Linked DNA regions of Homo sapiens: all the other regions are linked to region 3. Evidence: promoter capture Hi-C in 16 types of primary human blood cells and fetal thymus (Javierre and others, 2016). All regions are on one chromosome and are shown on one strand. Each heading gives the region's core, a stretch centred on a gene start or on the middle of the fragment in contact. The rest is flanking DNA. Distances are from core to core; before and after follow the strand shown. Region 1 overlaps LRRK1 (leucine rich repeat kinase 1). Region 2 overlaps LINC02348 (long intergenic non-protein coding RNA 2348). Region 3 holds the start of SNRPA1 (small nuclear ribonucleoprotein polypeptide A').

Region 1 (2,700 bases), core at 194-2,693, 260 kb after region 3:
AGAACTACCATACAATCCAGCAATCCCACTAGTGGGTATTTATACAAAGGAAAAGAACCCAGGTATTAAAGGGATACCTGGATTCCCTTATCTATTGCAGCACTATTCAAAATAGCAAAGATAAGGAACCAACCTAAGTGTCCATCAATGGAGAAATGGATAAAGAAAGGTCCATATACACAATGGAATACTACTTGGCTGTAAAAGAGAATGAAATCATGTCATTTGCAGCAACATGGATGAAACTGTAAGTCATTACATTAAATGAAATAAACCAGGCAAAGAGAAACAAATACTGCATGCTCCCACTCATATGTGGGAGCTAAAAAACTTGATCTTATGAAGATAGAAAATAGCATGACAGATACTAGAAGCTAGGAAGGGTGTGAGAGTGGGAGGAAGAGAGGTTGGTGAATGGGTACAGACATACAGTTAGAAGAAATAAGTTCTAATGGTTAATAGCAGACTAGGGTGACGATAGTTAGCAAGAATATATGGTATATTTCAAAGTGGTTAGAAGCCAGGACTTGAAATGATACCAACACATAGAAAGGATAAATACTCAAAGTGATGGATACCCCAAATACCCTGACTTGATCATTCCACATTCTACACATGTAAAAACTACTCACCTGTACCCCATAAATACGTAAAATATTATGTATTGATAAAAGAAATGTGAGCTAAGAAATGCAGCTCTAGAGACTGGAAAAGATAAGAAAATGGATTTTCTTCTAGAGCCTTCAGAGGCAGCATGATCCTGCTGACCCCTTGACTTTGGACCAGGGAAACTTACTTTGGACTTCTGGCCTCCAGAAAAATGTGTGTTGTTTTAAGATGCCACATTCATGGTATCTTACAGCAATCACAGGAAACTAATACAAAACGCTCACGCAACCTGATTTCAAGTCTTACTCTAAAGCTACAATAATCAGTGGGGTTTGGCACTGGCATAAGGATAGGCATATATATTAGTGGAACAAAATAGAGTCCTGAAATAAACCCACATCACTGATTTTTGATAAAGAAACCAAGATAATTCCATGGGGAAAGGAAAGTCTTTCCAACAAATGGTTCTGGAACAATGGGATAATATACAGGAAAAAAATGGACCTCGACCCCTACTTCACCCCATATACAAAAATTAATTTGACATAGATTATAGACCTGGAAGTAAAAGCTAAACTACAAACCTTCTAGAAGAAAAATAAAGAAAGATTGTCAAGATTGTGGTATAAGCAAATATTTCTTAAAGATGACATAAAAAGCAATAATCACACAATTTAAAAGTTAGACTTCATTAATATAAAAAAAGGAAGTCACAGACTGGGAGAAAATATTTGCAAATCATATATCTGAGAAAGAACTTGTATCGGGTAGGGGGAGGGGGGAGGGATAGCATTAGGAGATACACCTCATGTTAAATGACGAGTTAATGGGTGCAGCACAATATGGCACATGTGTACATATGTAACAAACCTGCACGTTGTGCACATGTACCCTAGAACTTAAAGAATAAAAAAAAAAGAACTTGTATCCAGAAGATATAAAGAAGTACATATCAGTACCAAAAAGGAAAACATTCTAATCATAAAATAGGCATAAAACTTGAATAGACACTTCACAGAAGAAGATATACCAACGGCCAATAAGCTCACGAAAGGTGCTAGACCTCATTAGTCATGAAGAAAATGTAAAGTAAAGCCACAGTCAAGTACAAGCTCACATCCACTGGAATAGCTAAAATCAGAAAGACCTACAGACAACAAATATTGGGGAGGAGGCCGGCGCAGTGGCTCACCCCTGTAATCCCAGCACTTTGGGAGGCCAAGGCAGGCGGATCACGAGGTCAGGAGATCGAGACCATCCTGGATAACATGGTGAAACCCTGTCTCTACTAAAAATACAAAAAATTAGCCAGGCGCGGTGGTGGGCGCCTGTAGTCCCAGCTACTTTGGAGGCTGAGGCAGGAGAATGGCAAGAACCCGGGAGGCAGAGCTTGTAATGAGCCAAGATCGTGCCACTGCACTCCAGTCTGGGCGACAGAGCGAGACTCCATCTCAAAAAAAAAAAAAATAGTGGGGAGGAAATGGAGTGTACAGTCTCTTGGAGGAGCATACAGTCTCTTGGGGGACAGCCTGGTGATTTCTTATAAAATTAAACTTACACTCTATTATCCAGCAATTCCACTCCTGGTTTTGATCCAAGAGAAATGAAAACATGTGTCTCCAAAAAGACTTAAGACTGTTTACAGCAGTGTTATTCATCATAGCCCAAAGTTGGAAACCATCCAAATGCCTATCAAGAGCTGAGTGGATAAACAAATTGCAGTAAAGCCATACAATGGAATACTACTCAGCAACAGAAAGAACAAACTCCTGATACACACAACCGCATGGATGGATCTCAAAGGCATGATGTTTAGTGCGAGAAGCCAATTAGAGACCATATTGCGTGACTCTGTGCGGTTGAGAAGTTCAAGAACAGGAAACAGTAGGCTCTGGTGCTGGAAGTCAGAGTGCTGGTGCTGACACGGATGGGAAGCGACTGGAAGGGCGTCTGGCGGAACTTCCAGTATGACAGGAACATTCTGTGTCTTGAGGCAGGTGCTGCTTGCACAGTTGTATGCATTTGTCAAAAGTCATTGTTTTGAACACTAGCGATCCGGGCATTTCACTGTAAGTAAACTTTACCTATGAT
Region 2 (2,700 bases), core at 58-2,557, 310 kb before region 3:
AACCACCTCCGAGGATGCCTGTGTTTCAGCGGAAGATGAGGCTGTGAGTTTTCTGCATTTCTTCCCAGTACAATCCATCGATGGGGGGTTGTTGTTCCCTCTGTCTTCACTGCCTGTGGCTGCCCTATGCCGGGTTACTATCACCCCCATGTTCCCACCCAACACAAACCTGCAGCTTCCTGCCTGACTTCCTGGACCTCTCGTCTGGCCTGCCTTTCCTTTCTTTTCCTTTTTTTTTTTTTTTTTTTTTTTTTTGAGATGGAGTCTCACTCTGTTGCCCAGGCTAGAACACAGTGGCACCATCTCGGCTCACTGCAACCTCTGCCTCACAGGTTCAAGCAATTCTCATGCCTCAGCTTCCTGAGTAGCTGGGATTACAGGTCTATACCACCACACCCAGCTGATTTTTTTATTTTATTTTTTTTTAGTAAAGACGGGGTTTCCCTATGTTGGCCAGGCTGGTCTCAAACTCCTGATCTCAGGTGGTCTGCCCACCTCAGCCTCCCAAAGCGCTGGGATTACAGGCATGAGCCACCACGCTCAGCCGCCTTTCTTTTCTTGAATGAACAGTTGACAAGATCAATGGGACCTAACCTGGGGTTGGGTGGGCCTTGGGCTGCCATTTCCGATTGTGCCCTTTCTGTTTTTAAAAGTACCTAGACACAACTGGATGCAGAGCTTATTCAAAAGGCCTTCAGGACAAGGGGGAAAGATTTTGTAAGGAATGGAGGGAGCATCATCAGTGGAAAGCCTGCCTCCACTTCCCATCCCTGTGATCATGACAGACATCACTAGCTGATCACTGACCATGGCATTCTTTCCCACAGAGTGTGAACTTGGCCTTTACATCCTTCTCCGCAGAGCACTGCAAGCAGCCAGTCCCACTGGAACATAAGATGAAGCTTTTGTTCCCATGGCTGGATACACTTTGGATCTTGGAATGCAATAATTACTTCAGCTGGATCTGGTTCGTGGAGTACTTGGCCAGGGCTCTGCCTCATGCCATGGTCCTACAAGATATGTGAGGAGGTGGACATCTTTGCGTAGCCCTCCTCCAGAGGCAAGTGGATTCCTTCCATAACCCAGAGAAGGCCGCTTGGGAATGAGGCTGAGAAGCCAGACTTTTTGGCACACAAAGAAAAAGGGAGTTTTCAAAGTTGCCGCAAATCATGCAGGAAGAGAAAACAGGACATTAGTGGACACTGATTCTTCCCCTCTGCTGAACTCTGAGTCCAGTTTAAATCTTTAATAACATAACACATGGAGAAAATTGCTTATATAAAATGATCACCTTTCTTTTAAAAAAAAAAAATTATAGAGACTGGGTCTTGCTCTATTGCCCATGCTGGAGTGCAGTGGCTTGATCATAGCTCACTGCAGCTTTGAACTGTTAGGCTCATATGATCCCCATGTCTCTGTCTCCTGAATAGCTGGGACTACAGGTGGACACTACCATGCCTAATTTTTTAGTTTTTTTTTTTTTTGAGATAGGATCTTGCTATGTTGCCCACGCTGGTCTTGAACTCCTGGTCTCAAGCAGTTATTCTGCCTCAGCCTCCCAAAGTGCTGGGATTACAGGCATAAAACACCACACTCAGCCAGAAGAAATTATCATCTTTCTAAAATCAAACTTCTCTTATATTCTGGGAACCTACTGAGGAAGGCACAGATTTATCCTCTAGATGCCAGAAGGCTAGAATTGGGAAAGCTTCGAAGCTTAAACAGGGCAAAGCGTAGGTCATAGAAGAATGTATTATCTATTGCTATGCAACAAATTACTCTAAAACTTTAAAAACACAAACATTTATTATCTCTCAGTTTTTCTGGGTGAGAATCTGGGTATGGCTTTGCTTGCTGCTTCTGACTCAAGGTCTCTCACCTGTCAAGGCTGCAATCAAAGTGTCGGCGGGGGCTGCAGTCTCATCTGAAGGCTTGCCTGGGGAGAACACACTTCCAAGCTCACTGCCATGGTGGATGGAAAGCCTCAGGGGTACTGCAATTGAGGGGAGAAAATGGCCAACTTGAGCCAGGGTGCAATGACATCAAGAGGCCTGGGAGCTGAGGAGAAAAGACTAAGGAGCCTGAGGAATGGATGTGGGTCTGGAAGAGAGCTGGAAGAGTACATGGTCCTGGGAGCCTCCTGGGGAAAGTGCTTTAAGTAGGAGGCAGAGACCAACTGGTTCCCATGGTGCCAATGAGTCATGTGAGATAAGGACTGAGAGTTGACATTAGGAGTGGCAGTGGAGGGGCATGTAGTGACTTTGACTAGAGCTATTTCCATGGGATGAGGAGGGTGAGGGAAGCTGACTAGTGTGGGCTCAGTTTATGCTGGAGGAGAGGACTGGGAGAATAATGCTCCTTCATGTTCCTCAGTTATGCTGTAAAGGGGAACGAGAAGCAGTAGCCGGAGAGGACTGGGGGAAGGGGCATCTAGGTTTCATCCATGCATCTGATGGGAATGATCCTGCAAAGGGGAAATGAACAATGCAGGCGAGAGAAGCAAGCCCTGCTGGACACATCCTTGAGTAGGCAGAAGCCAATGTCTGGTGCATAGGCAGAGGGCTGGCTTTAGGTGGGAAGGATGGGTGGGAAGATGAGCCGGCATAGAAGGGGTAGAGGGGGCTTGCAGAAGCACTTTCTGATGGTGTCTGTCTCTTCACTGAAATGGGAAGCCAGGTTGTCATTGTAGCCACCTCCCAG
Region 3 (2,700 bases), core at 116-2,615:
GTGTGTTCATATCCCTAATATATAAAGAAATTCCACAAATCAATAAGAAAAAAGGCAGACAACTCCATAAGGAAAAAAAAAAAATGAGCCAGGGACTCGAAAGAACACTTAACCAAGGAAGCTATCAGAATGGGCACCATACACATGAGAAGGTTCTCAGCTTCATTAGTTATTAGAGAAAAGCAAAGCAAAGCAGTAGTGCAATACCACCACACACCCATCAGAATAGCTGAAGTTATAGAGTTAAAATGCCAAGAAGGCTGAAGCTGGAAGCCATGAAAACCCTTACACACCGCTGGAGTGTGTATATTATTTCAGCCTCTTAGCATAACTGTTGGGCATTACTTATTGATGATAGATATACCCTATGTCCCAGCAGTCCCACTCCAGGACAAACTCATGCAAACGTGCATCAGAACCACGTACCAGAAAATTCATAGTAGCATTACTCAGAATAGCCCTAACTGAAAACAACTTTGATGTCTATCAACAGCAGAATAAGTAATTTATGGTATAATATATACAATGGAATTCTCTTCAGCAGCAAAAGCAAACAAACCATCTCTGTATGCAACCTGGATGGACTCCAGACATAATATAGACTCCATGAAACTAGGCCAAAAAAAAAAGCATACTGCATGATTCTATTTATAGCAAAAGCAAGCAAACCGAATTTGTAGTGTTGAGTTCGCGGTTGCCTTTTGGGAAAGAGGGAGGCTTTCAGAATAGCGGTGTTTTGGATCCCGGTGTCGGCTACGCAGCTGTGTTCACTCTGGTCATTAATCACTGTAAATTCCTGATATGCACACTTTTATGTATATCACATTTCATACATATGAATATTCAGAAGTCTAAAGGTCACAAGCTTAACCGCAAACCCTACCGTGCCCGAGGCCGGGCTGGACTTGCGGGGCGGTGGGGTTGTCCCGGCGACCTGCCCCAGGCGGGCCACCTAGCCCGGGATCTCACACTGTAGCCCGGAGCCAAGGCCCAGGCCCGGGGCGGGCACCTGAACTGCTGGACCCTTCACTGAACCCCACGGGTTCCCGCGACGGCTGGTGGAGGGAGGACAGTCACCGCTTCCCCTCCCACCTCGAGGTGCGCTAATGCATGAGAAAGTTCCCCTCGGGTGTTTCCACATTCGCCTTAACTTTTAAACACCAACGTCTGGAATCAGGGGTCCTCCAGACTCCGAAACACACCCTAGGAAACAACCCAGAACGAGACACATCCCCTGTGCGCGCGCCACGACTTCCGGCAAGAACGCCCCCGGAGGCGTGGCTCTTCGATTGCTTCGGCCTGGCGGTCGAGCTGCGCGCGCACTCGGCGGCTGCGATTGGTGCTGCCTGGCGGCGGGGCGCGGGGCACGCTGGGACGTCTCGCTGGCGGGAGGCCACGGGCTTTCCACAGCGCGGGGGAACGGGAGGCTGCAGGATGGTCAAGCTGACGGCGGAGCTGATCGAGCAGGCGGCGCAGTACACCAACGCGGTGCGCGACCGGGAGCTGGACCTCCGGGGTGAGTCCGGGGGCGTGGGCGGCCAGTCCCCAGGCGGCACCGAGCCGCCTTATTTTCCGCGCTTTGCCGCGTGCACCGAAGGCCGGAGCTTGGCCCGCGGGCCGGTTGTCTGGGCTCCGACCGGGCTGCGCAGGGAACGCCGGGCCTGATTCTTGCCGTTGTTGCCAGATGAGCATCCGGTTAAGCTCCTGGGAGCCTTCTGTTAGCGCCGTGCCTCTTGACAGGCACGGGTGACTTCATTACTTCCTGGTGCGTCCTCGTGGGGCCCTGTTAGGCCTTGCTTGGCTGTTTCGCCGCTGGCTGTTTGAGGGCCCGGAAGAGCGGCTCATTAATGGTTGTAACGCAAGTGCAGGGCGCGGGATTGGTTCTTAATACTTGCCGCCAGATGATATTTTGAGCGTAGATAGGATATGTGTTCATTATTCCTAATGTGAGGGAGGAAACTAAGTCCCCGAACAACCGCGATTGTTTCCTCCAGTATTTTCTACTTAGTAGCTTTAATTGTCTGGCGTTTCCCCTATATGAAGACGTTTTAAAAATTGAACTGTGTCACCCAGGCTTGCACCGCCGGGTGCTGTGTGTAAGTTGTGGAAGCGCTCGCAATTATTCAGATTCCTGTACTATTTCAACCTTAGCAAGACTTGGTAAGATACTGGGAGGGCAGCTAGCTAGTTGGCATTTCAGGAGACGGCTTTAAAAGGGACGTGATAGAGCAACTTCTCTGAGGATAAGACCATGCTGTCGTAGCCTGAGATTTGTTCCCATGGGGACCTATGGCCTCGGAGCAGCATCGCTGCGGGATCTGCTTAGATTTCTTGCCGACCTTTGGGAAATCCCACTGTTTTGTGTTGTGTTGTGTTGAGATGGAGTCTCGCTCTTTCCGCCCCAGCTGGAGCGCAGTGGCGTGATCTCGGCTCACTGCAACCGCCGCCTCCCCGGTTCAGGTGATTCCTGTGTCTCAAGCCTCCCGAGTAGCTGGGAATACAGGCATGCGCCACCACGCCCGGCTAATTTTTTGTATTTTTAGTAAAGACATGGTTTCTCCATGTTGGTCAGGCTGGTCTCGAACTCCCGACCTCAGGTGATCCGCCCGCCTTGGTCTCCCGAAGTGCTGGGATTACAGGCTTGAGCCACTGCGCCCGGCCCAACTCACCACTTTTGATGATCTCTGCCATTTCTCTTTA

The links. The method cuts DNA at HindIII sites, captures the fragments that hold promoters and counts their contacts. A CHiCAGO score of 5 or more calls a contact.
Region 1: a contact is called between a fragment that was not itself captured here and the fragment with the promoter of SNRPA1 in region 3, in 7 of 17 cell types (M2 macrophages, megakaryocytes, M1 macrophages and 4 more). The highest score is 7.2, in M2 macrophages.
Region 2: a contact is called between a fragment that was not itself captured here and the fragment with the promoter of SNRPA1 in region 3, in 5 of 17 cell types (M0 macrophages, megakaryocytes, M1 macrophages and 2 more). The highest score is 9.4, in M0 macrophages.

Annotation. Positions count from the first base shown.
Region 1 is chr15:101,031,115-101,033,814 of GRCh38, reverse strand. The region is part of intron 20 of LRRK1 (leucine rich repeat kinase 1); the gene reads right to left. Among named protein-coding and RNA genes, the nearest start is that of LRRK1, 110 kb to the right of the region's middle. The HindIII fragment of the contact is 8,031 bases long and covers 1-2,700 here.
Region 2 is chr15:101,604,163-101,606,862 of GRCh38, reverse strand. LINC02348 (long intergenic non-protein coding RNA 2348) reads left to right here. Exons shown (of 3, transcript NR_147041.1): 3 at 828-2,700. Among named protein-coding and RNA genes, the nearest start is that of LINC02348, 8.8 kb to the left of the region's middle. The HindIII fragment of the contact is 806 bases long and covers 905-1,710 here.
Region 3 is chr15:101,293,913-101,296,612 of GRCh38, reverse strand. SNRPA1 (small nuclear ribonucleoprotein polypeptide A') reads left to right here and starts at 1,365. Exons shown (of 9, transcript NM_003090.4): 1 at 1,365-1,516. The coding sequence starts at 1,435. It overlaps SNRPA1-DT (SNRPA1 divergent transcript), which reads right to left and starts at 1,265. Exons shown (of 2, transcript NR_186319.1): 1 at 884-1,265. RefSeq lists enhancers at 1,017-1,106, 1,167-1,216, 1,780-2,411 and a silencer at 1,447-1,636. The HindIII fragment of the contact is 2,362 bases long and covers 868-2,700 here.